Regions from separate parts of the Homo sapiens genome. Here all the other regions are linked to region 1. The links are contacts of gene promoters, found by promoter capture Hi-C in human tissues and cell types (Jung and others, 2019). All regions are on one chromosome and are shown on one strand. The core of a region is centred on a gene start or on the middle of the fragment in contact, and the rest is flanking DNA. Distances in the headings are between cores, read along the strand shown. Region 1 holds the start of MYEOV (myeloma overexpressed). Region 2 holds the start of LOC124902700 (a long non-coding RNA gene). Region 3 holds the start of MRGPRD (MAS related GPR family member D). Region 4 holds the start of MRGPRF (MAS related GPR family member F).

Region 1 (3,337 bases), core at 838-3,337:
CAGGTGGGCTGGCAATCTGAATGTTGAAGACAGAGGGAGAAAATCAACCTGGGGCAGTCAGATTTCTACAGTCCTCCCCAGCAGGACCCAGGTGGGCTACTGGGAGTCCCAGAAGCAGATATCAGCCCAAAAGATGAGCTTTGATAATTAGAGTGAGGCTATGGTGAGACTGAGTGACACTGCGGGGTGCCAAAATAATCTAGGGTTGTTGGAATGCTGACAGCAGACAAAAGTAAGATAAGGTATCTCCTGACACCACCTCCTTCCATCTGCTCTCAGACGGGGCTCTTTGGAGAGGATCTGCCAGGAAGAACTGAGGTCTTATGCCACCTCCACCTCTACGTAACCTCAAACAGGCGTCATCTTGTCTCCTGGCCTCAGTTTCCTCATCTGTAAAACGGGGACACATCAGGATCTGCCCTCAGCAAGTTGCTGAGTGCCTGCCCTGAGCAGCCGGTAGGTGGCGCTGATGGGCTGGTGGTTGGGTTGGGGGAGGCTCGCATAGGGTCTCTGGAGGTCCCAGTAGGGCACTGGGGAGACCTCCCCTGATTCCCTGGAGGCAGAGCAGAGCTCTTGTCTTTGCAGGAGCTGCAGATTCTGCCTTGGGTATCTTAGAAGCTTTGTACAGGCATCTCCAGCTCAGTGGGAACCAAATGCCATCCTATCTCCCCACCTCACTGGTGTCACCATCTTCCTGGGAGCTGTCTGGATAACCCTCTCCCTGGCCCTCACCTTTAATTTGTCCCTGAGTCCCATCAGGGTCACCCTCCATCCCACTGCCATCTTCCTGGGAGCTGTCTGGATAACCCTCTCCCTGGCCCTCACCTTTAATTTGTCCCTGAGTCCTATCAATCAGGGTCACCCTCCATCCCACCACCATCTCCCACCTGAGTGAGAATGGGAACCTCCTCTCCCACTCCCTCCAATTCCCCTCCACTACAGCTGGGGGAGGCTTCTAAAATGCCAAATATAGCCCAGTTTCTGCAACTTGCAGGGTCCCCAGCCCTCGGGAGAAAGTCCAAACCCCTGACAAAGCCTGTGAAGCCCCCTGAGGCCCTGTGGGTCTGGGGCTAGCTCTGGGCTGCAGCCCTGTCTCTGGTCATAGTCCAGCATCCACCACGGTCCAGGTGCACTGAGCTGCCGGCCCTCTCTCCCCTCCGCTGGCTCCTTCCTCCTGACTGCCCGTCTTTCCCTGGCCTCTCTATGCTTCCCGCTGGCATTGACGACAGTGTCCTGGAGAGCTGGGCAGGGAGGGCTGCCTTGGGTTCCTACTGTGTGCTCCACCTAGTGCTGGTCTTGGCCCTTAGCAAGTGCTCAGTACACCCGTGTGGAATTGGGCGGTGAGGGTAAAGGGAGGAGGAGGGAAGGGCCAAGAGCTCCCTGTGCTCAATGAAGAGAGGGACTTGAGCAAGTACTCATTTTTAGTACTTCCCAAGATGTGTACAAGAGGCCTGGGGCCAGCAGAACTCCTTGCCCCTGCCCATCCCCCTCCAGTCTATGGGGTCCACCCCCAGCTGCCCAGCTGTGAGGCCTCCATGGCTCAGCTCCTCATCTATTAAGTGAGGACAGCAGTCGTCCCCCTCACAGCGAGGCCACGTGGGTTACATAACTTTTTCTTAGGGTGCCTGGCCTGCAAGAAACCCCTAAGAATGTTCTATATTCCTAGGCCCACTGTTATTCTTAATATTACCCAGGAAAGGGTGGTGAAGCGAGTAAATAAATGAATAGGTGAATGAATAAATGAATGAATGAATGGCACCCTAGCCCCACTGTCTTCTGGGTGGCTTCAGGATCCTTGAGGAGGTTGGCCGTGTAGGTTCCCCTCAGGTAGGACCTAGGTGAGCTGGGGAGTCTTAACTCACCCAGGGCAGGCCTTAAGGTTGGGCACACCCATGTGTGGGCTCTGCCCTGGCCTTAACCGAGAGAGGGAAATGTTGACGGGGAAGAAAGCCCTGCCCACCAGGCAGCCCCACCCACCTGGGCTAGCCCCACTCACAAGCAGCCCCACCCACCTGGGTTAGTCCCACCCACCAGGCAGCTCCGCCTACCTTGGCTATCCCCCTCTGAGTTCTTGCCTTGATTCTCCTGTTACTGTCCCGCGAACCCACATCCCTACAAAGCAGGAAAGTATGCTTGGGAGAGGCCAAGTGAGTGGGGAATCAGCCCAAAGCCAGGCGTCCAGGGTCTCCCTCACCTGAAGCTGACTTTTTCCCCACCTTGGACAGAGGGCGGGAGATGCCATCCCCACTGAACCCAGTGCTTTCACCAGCCATATTAGCTCCCACTCACCCCCCGTCGTGGAAGCCTCGGCCGTCACACCTGCAGGGCCGGGGCGTGCATGGCCTCAGGGATGGCCTGTTCAGCTGCTGGGTGACTCGGGTCCAGGTGCCTCACCACCTGCTGAGCTCTGTGTGATTTCTGGACACTTCTGCTCGTTGCCTTTGGGCTCAGTGAAGAGTCTGGAGTTTATCTGGAGTGAGGTGGCCGGTTCTTGGTGGGATCTGAGCAGGTAAGAAGCAGGGTCTTTCTTATGTTTTAAGGAAAGCCCTGTGGCTGCTGGGTGGGGGACCAGCTGGAGGGGCAGGAGGGCAGCAGGTGACTCATTACAAGGCTGGGGCCATCATCCTGTGAGAGCTGGGCATGACCAGTGCAGGTCAGTGGGGTTGAGGGTACAGACCAGTGGGACCCACAGACGGCTCGGGAGTGACCAAGCCTCTGCTGAGCTGCCCAGGTCCCCTCTGGTGGACACCTCCTACCCGGAGCCCCCCAAGGTGGTGCCAAAGCTAGACCACCATACAGCCAGAGGCCTCCAGGCCCTACCCACGACAGCCCAGCTGGCTTCTGCCCAGCCACCGTCACACACAGAGGGCAGCCGTCCCCATGGTCCCTAGAGGCGGTTGAGGACCACTGTGCCTGGAGTCATCTGTGGCTATAAACCAGGAGGAGAAGGCTGCCCACCCCCTGCCCCAGAGATGGGGAGGCTGGGGCCACCCGGTGGATTTGGGCAGGTCCCAGCTTCCAGGATCATGAGGTGAAAACGTGAAGGGACCCTAGAGGCCATGGGGACCCAGGCACAGAGCGGCGGCCTCTCATCCTCCCCATGGTCAAGGAGGTCAGTGCCTTCCCGGGGTGGATTACGGATGGTAGTATCTTCCTTCTCCTCAGAGTCCATTCAGGAGCAGGAAAGTTCATCTCAGACCCTAAATCCAGCCACGTCATGCCACGCTTAACACCTCTAACAACTTCCCCTGGCACTTAGGACAGCGTCTGGCTCCTTCCCTCGGCTCATGGCCCTCAGAATCTGCGTCACATACACCCCAGCTCTCCCGATAGGTCT
Region 2 (3,337 bases), core at 218-2,717, 440 kb before region 1:
GCTGAATGACTGAGTGATGGTTGGGATGGACGGGTGGAGGGTTGGGGCTCTGCAGGCTTAGCTGCCTGGTGCCCCTCCATCTGGCCCTTCCCTTCCAGGCCCTCACCCCATTTCCATGTCTCCCACAGGAACCTCTAAACTGTCCCCATGTGTGCCCTTCTTCGCGGTCACCTTCTGTGCCCCAACATCTTTGAGGCAATCTGTGGCCTCCAGGCAGAACAGGCTTCAAAATTTGTCAAGCAAAGTGAAATGAAGGCTGAGACCTTTGATCAAAAACTATGAAGAATTTCAAGCTGAGGTGGGAAGATCGCTTGAAACCAGGAGTTTGAGACCAGCCTGGGCAACAAAGCCAGACCTTGTCTCTACCAAAAATAAAAAATTACCTGGTGGTGTGCCTGTAGTCCCAGCTACTTGAGAGGCTGAGGTAAGAGAATGGCTTCAGCTTGAGCCCAGGAGTTCGAGGCTGCAGTGAGCTATGATCGCACCACTGCACTCCAGCCTGGGTGACAGAGCTCTCGAGACTCAGTCTCCAAAATAAATAAATACATAAAATTGAAAAAAATTTTAAAAAACAAGAAAGGAATTTCAAGCCAGTGACTGCAGAGCATGAAACTAACCACGAAGCCCTGTTAAGTTCTCCCCTTGTGTGACTGTGCGAGTTGCATTTCCCGGAAGCTGGCCCTTCCTCTCAGGCAGGCCGGAAAGACCTCCTAGAGATCTGTGCCCAAACGACCTTTCCAACCTGGGCTCACAAACCTCACTGGGCTCTGTGCTCTCTCCACTGAAAACCTCACCCCACCTCCTGCCTCTGAGCATCTGTTCTCGCTGTTCCCTCTGCCCAGCGTGCCTTTCCACTCACTTCTTCTTGTTTTTGTGCACAGCCATGGATCAGGTGCCAGGAGAGGAGACGGAGGCAAAGCAGGGCCAGTCAGCTCTCCAGAGAAGACACTCTCAGAGGGCAGCTGCAGCCTTGCTCCACTGCAAGGCTCAAGCAGAAGCTTCCTCTGCTGCAAAATGGAGCAGCCATAAGAACCACGATGCAGGATCTGAGGTGCAACTCTGCTAAGCTCTCTGTCTTTTTTTTTTTTTTTTAGATGAAGTCTTGATCTCTTGCTCTGTCGCACAGACTGGAGTGCAGTGTTGAGATCTCGGCTCACTGCAACTCCGCCTCCCGGGTTCAAGCGATTCTCCTGCCTCAGCCTCCCAAGTAGCTGGATTACAGGTGGGCGCCACCACGTCCTGCTAATTTTTGTTGTTGTTTTGTTTTTTTTGTTTTGTTTTGTTTTGTTTTTTGAGATGGAGTTTTTGCTCTTGTTGCCCAGGCTGGAGTGCAATGGTGCGATCTTGGCTCACGGCCACCTCTGCCTCCCGGGTTCAAGTGATTCTTCTGCCTCAGCCTCCCGAGTAACTGGGATAACAGGTATGTATCACCATGCCTGGCTAATTTTGTATTTTTAGTAGAGAAGGGGTTTCTCCATGTTGGTCAGGCTGGTCTCGAACTCCCAACCTCAGGTGATCCACCCACCTTGGCCTCCTAAAGTGCTGGGATTACAGGTGTGAGCCACTGTGTCTGGCCATTTGTGTATTTTTAGTGGAGATGAGGTTTTGCCATTTTAGCTAAGCTGGTCTCGAACTCCTGACCTCAGGTGATCCACCCGCCTCGGCCTCCCAAAGTGCTGGGATTGCAGGTGTGAGCCACTGCGCCTGGCCCTGCTAAGCTCTCTTTTTTTTAATCTACTGAGATTTGACTCACATACCATAAAGTTCACTGTTTTCAAGTGTACAATTCAATCGATTTTGGTATATACACAGGGTTGTGCAACCACCACCACAATCTAATTTCCTAAACATTTTCCCCTAAACAAAACACTCAACCCATTAGCAGCCTTTCTCCCCATGTTCCCCACCCGGGGCAGCCACCAGTCCACTTTTTGTCAAATTCACATATGGATTTGCCTATTTTGCACATTTCATAGGAATGGGATCCTACAACATGTGGTCGTTGGTGACTGCCTTTTTTCACTGAGTATCATGTCTTCAGGGTTCACCAATGTTGTAGCCTGGGTCGGTGTTTCACTCCTTTGTATAGCTGAATAGTACTCTGTTTGTCCGGACAGACCACATTGGATGCGTCCATTCATGATAGGACAGATGCGCACAGTACAGCACTTTCAGTCTGCCTGGGAGGTGGGTGTGGGTGCCCGGACCTCCCACGCTGACCTTGATCCTGAAATATAACCCAATGGCTGTCTCCTTTCCCTTCTGGAAGATTCCCACTCAGCCTTCAAGGTCCACTCGGAGGTCACTTGCGTCCCCCCATTACCCCAAATAGACATAATGCCTTCCTCCGCTGTGCTTGCAGTGAGGCTTCTTCCTTGTCTAAGACCCACCCGTCTCTCCCCCCTCGCCGCTCCAGTCCGAAACTGCGATTGTCCTGTTTCTGGGGTCCTGGGCGTCTCCAACCCCCCAAAACGTTTGTGCATTGGAAAAATGGGGAATTGGCTGGGCGCTCATTGGCTGCCGGAGAAGCTAATTGTTTCCTTGAAGTCACAGGTTTCGGACGGAGGAAAGAAGAGTTGGGGTATTCTGGCGGTAGGGACCGGTGGGGAGGAGGAAGTGACCCTCCTCTAAGGCCCAGGGTCGGGGGAGGTGGGGAGGGAGCGGCCGACCGGCCGAATAGCGCTGCTTTCTTTGTTTTTCATGCAACATAATTCCATGGCCAGTCCAGGCGCTGCAGCCCCCTCCCCTGCCGGCCCCGGCGCCCGCGCAGGACCGCAGAGGGGCTGGGGGTCCAGGGCGCAGTCTAGTTCCAGGGCGCCCGCGCAGCCGCGGGTCCTTCCCTCTGGGAAGGAGCTGGCGGAGGCTAGGGAGGGGGCGTGCGGGTGTCCCCCGCCTTCCTCAGCTCCTCTAAGCGCCCATGGAGAGCCCCAGTTCCGTCCCAGGCTCTCCCTCGGCTCCTCTTTTTATTTATTTATTTATTTGTTTGTTTGTTTATTTATTTATGATGGAGTCTCGCTCTGTCGCCCAGGCTGGAGCACAATGGCATGATCTCGGCTCACTGCAACCTCTGCCTCCCCGGTTCAAGCGAATCTCCTGCCTCAGCCTCCTGAGTAGCTGGGATTACAGACGCTCGCCACTACACCCGGCTAATGTTTGTATTTTTAGTAGAGACGGGGTTTCACCATATTGGCCAGGCTGGTCTCGAACTCCTGACCTCGTGATCCGCCCGCCTCGGCTTCCCAAAGTGCTGGGATCCTCGGCTCCTCTTTTGCAGACGAGGAGGCGCAGGGGCGAGTGGGGAGGGCGTCCTCGGTGAGCGCGCGAATACCCTCCTGAG
Region 3 (3,337 bases), core at 485-2,984, 310 kb before region 1:
GCCTGGAAGGCTGCCCTCCACTGCCTGGGGCACTGTCCTATCAGCATCTGCTGGAGTGACTGCCAGTGAAGCCAGGCAGAGGCTCTTCCCTTCCCAGTGCGGCCTGGAGGAAAGCGAACAGGCCTGCCCTGGGTGCGAGGGGTGACAGGGTAAGGCGACCTCATAGCAAATGCCAGGGGTCAAGGGCTGGCCAGGGGTCAGAGGGATGGTGGGGCAGAGTCTCATGGCCCACAGCCAGCGAGATCCGGGTCGGCGATGGCGACACCGTTTACTTGCCAGACTTCAGGCACACCTGGGGAAAGGTGCACGGGGGCACCACCTTGGTGGCCAGTTGATGCCACCCAAGGACCAGCATAGGGCCAAAGATCACCCGAGGTCACCTGCCTCCTCCACAAAGATGCCGTCTTAGGCAGAGAAGGTGGTTGGGAGAAAGCTTTCATATTCAAATGAGATTCCTGTTATCCACCCATAGATAACCAGCTTAAAGCAGGGTAGGGCTAAAAGCTAATATTTTCCCCCAACCAGATAATCTGCTATAAACAAATAAATTGCATCTTCCAGCGGGGTTGCATTGTGAGATCCAGGACACAGGTGTTGTGGGGAGTTTTGACATGCAGGGAAGTGACCCCCACATGCAGCTGCAAAGTCCTTGGGGCTCCCCCAAGAAGGCGGGCCAGACACTTGGCAGGGACGAGGTGGGAGGCAGCTCACGGCTCGGGAATCTCCAGGGCATGGGCTCGCACAGGTGGGAAGCACCTGTGGGCGGCTCTCAAGCCCCCATCTCATTGGTGCCCACGGTGGGCGTCTCCCCACCTTCCAGCTCGGGCTCCTCGCGAAGCGCCTGTTGGAGCACAGTCCCCAGGGACCTGGTGGGCAGCCTGTGGCTCCTCCGGCTGCCCACCAGGAAGTAGATGACGGGGTTGGCGCTGCTGCTTACGGACGAGGAGAGGCGTGACAAGCTGAAGCACAGGACCTGCATCTCGGGCGGCAGGCTCAACCAGTAGAGCACAAACCAGTAGATGCTCAGAGGCAGGGAACAGATGAGGAACACCAGGACAGAGGCCAGGACCACCACGAACAGCCGTGTGGGCTGCCGCCGCCACTGCTGGGAGCTCCTCCGCACCCAGACAAAGAGGGTCAGGCTGGACAGAGTCATCACTGGGGTTAAGACCCCCATGATGAGGGCGGCCTGGACCATGTCCACCCTGAAGCACCGATCTTCATTGAATTTCAAGAACTTGCTGCAGAAGGAAGAGGTCAACCCGTTCATCAGGAGACAGAGTGTCCACAGCAGGCCACACACCCAGGCTGACAGGTGCCTGGGCCGGTGACACTTGAACCAGATAGGGAAGAGGACAGAGAGACAGCGCTGGGTGCTGATGGCCGTCAGCAGGCTCAGGCCCACTGTGTAGGCAAAGTACATCAGTCTCTTCATCAGCTCGTGGACCTTGTCAGTGGTATTGACCAGGGGCTGGGTTTCCAGGCTGAGCGTGGAAGCCATGCTGAAGAGGAAGAGGAGGTCGGCTGCCGCCAGGTTGAGGATATAGATGCAGAAGGGGTTCCTGTGCATTCGAAAGCCCAGCAGCCAGATCACCATGCTGTTGCCTGCCATCCCGCACAGGCAGGTGAACATGGCCAGGGAGCTCAGCACCAGGTAGGCCGTGTGCACTGTGCTCCCTCTGGAATAGTTTAGGGCTGACTCCACGGTCCCACTGCTATTCAAAGTCTGGTTCATCCCTACGAGAGGAAGATGTACCAATGTGAAATTCTGTGTTGCTGGGACCACGGGGGACCCCTGGGTGCCCCTCGAATTTCCAGCTTCAGAGCTCTCCCCTCCAGGTTCTTTATGTAACAGACCATGACCGGGAGGCTTAACCTTCCCCCACTCCTGTGACTCACTCAGCCCAGATCTGCCTCCAGGGTCACCTTTATAGCTACAAAGCTGTTATAAATACCCTTTATCAGGTTAAAAAATTCTCTTCTATCTTGCTTTGAATTATTTTTTAAATCATGGAGAGGTATTGAATTTTATCAAATGCTTTTTCTACATCTATTATAGAAAAATCATTATTATCAATAGATGTAGAAAAACTATTTGATAGAAACATTTGAAATCATTTTTTTTTTCTCCTGTAATTGTCAAACCCTGTGAGTTAATTAAAAAAACAATAGACCTTAGGGCTGGGCGTGGTGGTGCATGCCTGTAACCCCAGCACTTTGGGGTTTGCTTGAGGCCAGGAGTTTGAGACCAGCCTGGGCCACATAGCAAGATCTCATCTCTACAATTTTTTTTTTTAATTAGCCAGGCATGGTGGCACACACCTGTGGTCCCACCTACTTGAGAGGCCAAGGCGGGAGGATCGCTTGAGCCTGGCACATTGAGGTTGTAGTGAGCCATGGTCCCGCCACTGCACCCCAGCCTGGAAGACAGAGCGAGATGCTGTCTCTTAAAAAAAAAAAAAAATTAGACCTCAGGGCAAAGTGTAGAATTAACTACACTCCTTAGTTTAAGACACACCATGAGCATCAGCCCATTAAAAACCCTCCATTTATTCAAGTTTCCTTCCCCATCCCATCTTAGCTGCCTTTTTCCTCCTGCCGCTTGCATCCATCCAACCTGTTTCACGCAAATCCTTGGACACCTCAATATCTTTCAAGATGGAGTGGTTGCCCATTGTGTTTTAAATTTACGTAAATGTTGTGATTTAGAATTAATGATGGGTTTTTTATTTTTCACTTGACAATATGTTTGTAGGATATATCCAGGTGGCTGTATGCAAAAGTTGTGGTTTAAAATGTCATCATGCACATTGATCTGTTATCCATTCCTTACTGTGGATCCTCAGCTTGCTTCAAAATTCCCATTATCACCAAAACACTGTGTTGGACATCCTCATGCATGTACCCATTGGACTTGACTCAATATTTTTCTGGGATACATTCTTGGAGGAGGATTGCTCGGTCATAGAACATATGCACATTTAGTCTCACTAAATATTGCCTGGTAATTCTTTTTCTGAGTGGCTGCTTCAGGTTTCACCTGTACCAGCAGAATAGGAATGTTTACGTTTTCCCATTCTCTCACCAACACTTGGTGTTATTTGTTTTTCTAACTTTTGCCAACCTGATGGTTGCAAAGTGATATACTGTAGATGTTTTAACTTGCATTTCTGTGATTACAGTGAGTTTGAGCATCAATTCATATATCTGTTAGCCATTTGGAGTTCCCCTTCTTCAAATTGTCTGTTCACACCTGTTGTCCATTTTTCAATTGGGTTTCTTTTCTTTTCCTTTCTGATTTGCAAGAGTTGCTTGTATTTCTAGGTATTAATGCCTT
Region 4 (3,337 bases), core at 224-2,723, 280 kb before region 1:
TCCAGAGATGTCCTGACTCACAGGAGCCTCATCCATTCACCCTGGCCAGGCTAGACCCCAGCCACACCAACTAGTGCCCCAAAGGCAGTGGGCTGGGCTCCCCCCTACGCTGCAGGTGGGCATGCAGTGGGGGCCCCCAGCTCCCCTCTCTACCATCTGCGTCCCTCCATTATGTGGGTGTCCCTGTGCATTTGTCCTTGTCCTGCCAGGGACAACCTGAAAAGCGATTTCACGCATGCACAGAAAGATCTAGAAGCCAGCAGACCCCAGATGGGCCATATTAAAGGACATGTGTGTGACACGTGGATGGGGCGTGCGTGTCAGTACATGTGTATGTGTGTTCCTCTGGGTGGGATCTGGGCTGCTATGACAGAACTAGTTTCCACTGAAGCTGACCCAAAAAGCTGCCAGCACAGCTCACACCTGACCCTCCCCTCGGAGCAAGCCCAAGGGTGGCCTGGCCACCTGTCAGCCTCCTGCAGCCTTGCCCGCAGGAAGCTCCTCCTCTCCCTTCACTCCATCCCACCATGACCCAGCCCCGACGCCGCTGGGGCTGTCCCAGCCCCTCTCCTTAGCCGCTTGTGCCGCCATCAGAGGGGCCTGTCTCGCTCCCCCAGACACAGAGCCTCTGTTTTCCTCACTCCGGGTCTGGAGTCCCCTGCTTAACAGCTTGGATTGAAGAGGCTTGTCTGGGGGGACTGAGACCTTGCAGATCATTCCAGGAGCCGCCTCCATCCAAGGCCAACAGCTTCATCAGGCCGCAGGCCTGGGAGAAGGTGGGACTGCAGTTGCCCAACATCCTGTGGCTGCCCACACGGACACCCCATGTGCACCCCAGGGCTGAGAGCAGGGGGAGCCATCTCCCTGTGTGTGGGACACTGCCTGCTGGGTGTTCCGTTCCAGCCCCTCTAGAATGCATGCTTGAATGGCCAGTGAGGCTGGGGGAGGGACCGAGAGGGAGCCCTCACCCCCAGCAGCACAGAGCAGGAGCTGGACGGTGGGGCTGGGGGTGAGGCCAGCTGAGAGGGGTCAGGTCCTGCCACGGGAGGGGGACTTTTAAAGTTCCTCCATGGCCCTGGAACCCTGGAGCCTCAGGAGTGGCAGGGGAGCTTCTCCGGTGAGTGACAGCCTCTCTGGGGTCTCAGGGCTCCCTGCCTGGGGCCTTAGGATTTCTGGGAGCTGCCTGCCCCGACAGCGTCCACCTCTCTGCCCCTACAGTGCCCGCGTCATTTTCCTTCCCTGCCTGGCCCTCACCCTGCAGCCCCGGTTGTTGGAACACCCTCCCCTGGACCCTGGGCCCCTGGAGCTACCTGCAGCTGTCCTGATCCGCCGAGGCCTCCTTTTGTGGAGGGCTCTTCCTGTGACTCCCGCCTCCGGCCGGCGGACCCGCCGGGGCAGCAGGCCAGCGCCGAGCGCGGCCCGGAGCCTTGGAAAATAGGAGCTCAGAGTAGAGCCCTCTCCTGCTGGAAGAGATGGCTTTGGAAGCAGAACCCGCCCCAAACCCAATTCCTGGCCCGGCAGGAGGGGGAGGGGGAGGGGAGTAGGAGGAGGGGCTGAGCAGGGCTGAGCGGGGATGAGGCTTCAGGAAGGAATGCCCCGCTCAGGAGCCCCCCCCAGAGCCCCACCGGGAACTCATCTCTCCGCCTGGTGACGTCACGTTGGCCCGAGCACTGCAGCCCGAGTCCAGCTGTTCATCTCCCTCACATTCTGCTGCTCGGCAGGGCTGCCCAGGAGAGGGAGCACCGGCTGTACACTTGCCTGGCGTCTTTGGTCTGCCCCCAGTGGGCATTTCGGGGCAGGCTGGCCCAGGAGGGGCTAGTCCCCACCCCGTTGTTTTAATTTACTCAGGGGCTGATACAGAGCAGTGGGGGGCAGCAGGGCGAGGGCTCCATGGAGGGGCAGTGCAGAACTGGCAGAGGTGGTCAGCACCGCCCAAGCGGCACCCCTCCCCCTTCCCACCCCGGACTCGGCCTGGGCCCCCTGGGGGCTTATGGAACCAGGAATTCCCTTTTCCCCAGCCCTAATAGCAATCAGATGGCGCAAGTGGAAAATCACGGCGCTCGGCAAGCAAGCTGGAAATTGGCGGGCTGTGGTGCCTGGTGCCTGCGCTGCTCAGCGGGAGGATGAGTCAGGTCCCCCTTCCCCATTGAGCCCCTGGAGGCGGGCGGTGGGGGGGGGTCCTGGAACGCGTTCATGCCTGGGGCACTGAGCATTGGTAGGGGTGGGGGTGCAGAGTCGGGGGTGCGGGAGCCAGCAGGGTGGCCAGGAGGAGGGGGTGATGAGAAGGCTCCCCTCCTACCCTGGGCCAACTTTCTCAGGGTCCAGGAAGCCCGAGGGAATTCTGAACTTTCCCTGCAGGAGTGTAGTGCCCAGACTGGGAGAGATGTGCCTCTGTGGGCATCTTGAAGGGAAATGAGAAGCGGAGCTGCCCCTGCACCTGCGCTGGGAGCTGCCTGCCTCCTGCTTGTCCTGGCCATGTGCGAACCTCAGCGTGGAAGAGGGACTCTCGCACTGCTCCCTGCGCGGCTCAGCTGGCCTCCTGGGGTCCGTTTTTCAGGGATGGGGTGAGGAGGGACTCTGGGATCCTGGAGGCTCACGGGCCATGCCTGAGGCTGAGAGAGAGGCTGGAGGCAGCAGGCAGGGTGGTGACCCGTCCCCTCCTCTCCAGGGCAGCCAGCTGGGGCCCAGCTGGAACGCTTGTTTACATGGGGAGGCCGGGGGAGGCTGAATCCCGGCGAGTTCCAAGTGTAATTGCGTTTGGACACTTAAAAGGAATTGTGTGAAGTGGGCAGAGGCTCTGAAGTCCACCGCCTTATTTGGTATGGAAATCTGTTTCTCTCAAAATAAGCGAGAGGCGCTTGTAAACGGGAAGGTCGTCCTGGCCTGAGTTTGTGGAGTCCCCTTCCCGTGGGCTTGGTGTGTCCGGCTGCTCTGTTGCAGTACCGCAGACCAGGGGCTTATCGGAGCAGGCGTTTGTTTCCCATGGCTCCGGGGGCTGGAAGGCCAAGATCAAGGCCTCCACAGATTCAGCGTCTGGTGAGGACCCAGCCTCTCACTGAGTCCCCATGTGGTGACCCCTTTCAGGCAGGCGAAGGAGCTCAATGGGGCCTCTTTTACTCGGGCATTAATGCCATTATGAGGCCCCACCCTCATAACCTGCTCATCTCCCAAACACCCCACCTCACACAGGAGATTAGATGTCAACACATGAATTCAGGGCAGTGGGGCAGCAGGGCAGGGGGTGGGGCCACAAACATGCAGTCTGTAGCAGCCACCCTGGGGGTCTCTCCCCACCCCCTGGGGGAGTGGTGGGCTGTGTGTGTGGGGTGGTGCCCAG

The links. The method cuts DNA at HindIII sites, captures the fragments that hold promoters and counts their contacts. A contact is called where the count stands out against the background at its distance.
Region 2: a contact is called between a fragment that was not itself captured here and the fragment with the promoter of MYEOV in region 1, in 1 of the 25 tissues and cell types used here (spleen).
Region 3: a contact is called between the fragment with the promoter of MRGPRD here and the fragment with the promoter of MYEOV in region 1, in 2 of the 25 tissues and cell types used here (mesendoderm cells and thymus).
Region 4: the fragment with the promoter of MRGPRF here is called in contact with the fragment with the promoter of MYEOV in region 1 in 2 of the 25 tissues and cell types used here (IMR-90 fibroblasts and stomach).

Annotation. Positions count from the first base shown.
Region 1 is chr11:69,292,068-69,295,404 of GRCh38, forward strand. MYEOV (myeloma overexpressed) reads left to right here and starts at 2,088. Exons shown (of 3, transcript NM_001293291.2): 1 at 2,088-2,509; 2 at 3,166-3,337. The coding sequence starts at 3,288. RefSeq lists an enhancer at 659-1,210. The HindIII fragment of the contact is 12,136 bases long and covers 1-3,337 here.
Region 2 is chr11:68,851,980-68,855,316 of GRCh38, forward strand. LOC124902700 (a long non-coding RNA gene) reads left to right here and starts at 1,387. Exons shown (of 3, transcript XR_007062752.1): 1 at 1,387-1,420. The HindIII fragment of the contact is 8,710 bases long and covers 1-3,337 here.
Region 3 is chr11:68,979,252-68,982,588 of GRCh38, forward strand. It overlaps MRGPRD (MAS related GPR family member D), which reads right to left and starts at 1,735. Exons shown (of 1, transcript NM_198923.2): 1 at 770-1,735. The coding sequence starts at 1,735. The coding sequence ends at 770. RefSeq lists an enhancer at 715-1,224. The HindIII fragment of the contact is 17,904 bases long and covers 1-3,337 here.
Region 4 is chr11:69,011,773-69,015,109 of GRCh38, forward strand. It overlaps MRGPRF (MAS related GPR family member F), which reads right to left and starts at 1,474. Exons shown (of 3, transcript NM_145015.5): 1 at 1,311-1,474. It overlaps MRGPRF-AS1 (MRGPRF antisense RNA 1), which reads left to right and starts at 582. Exons shown (of 6, transcript NR_120541.1): 1 at 582-776; 2 at 2,019-2,132; 3 at 2,359-2,544; 4 at 2,669-2,819. The HindIII fragment of the contact is 18,072 bases long and covers 1-3,337 here.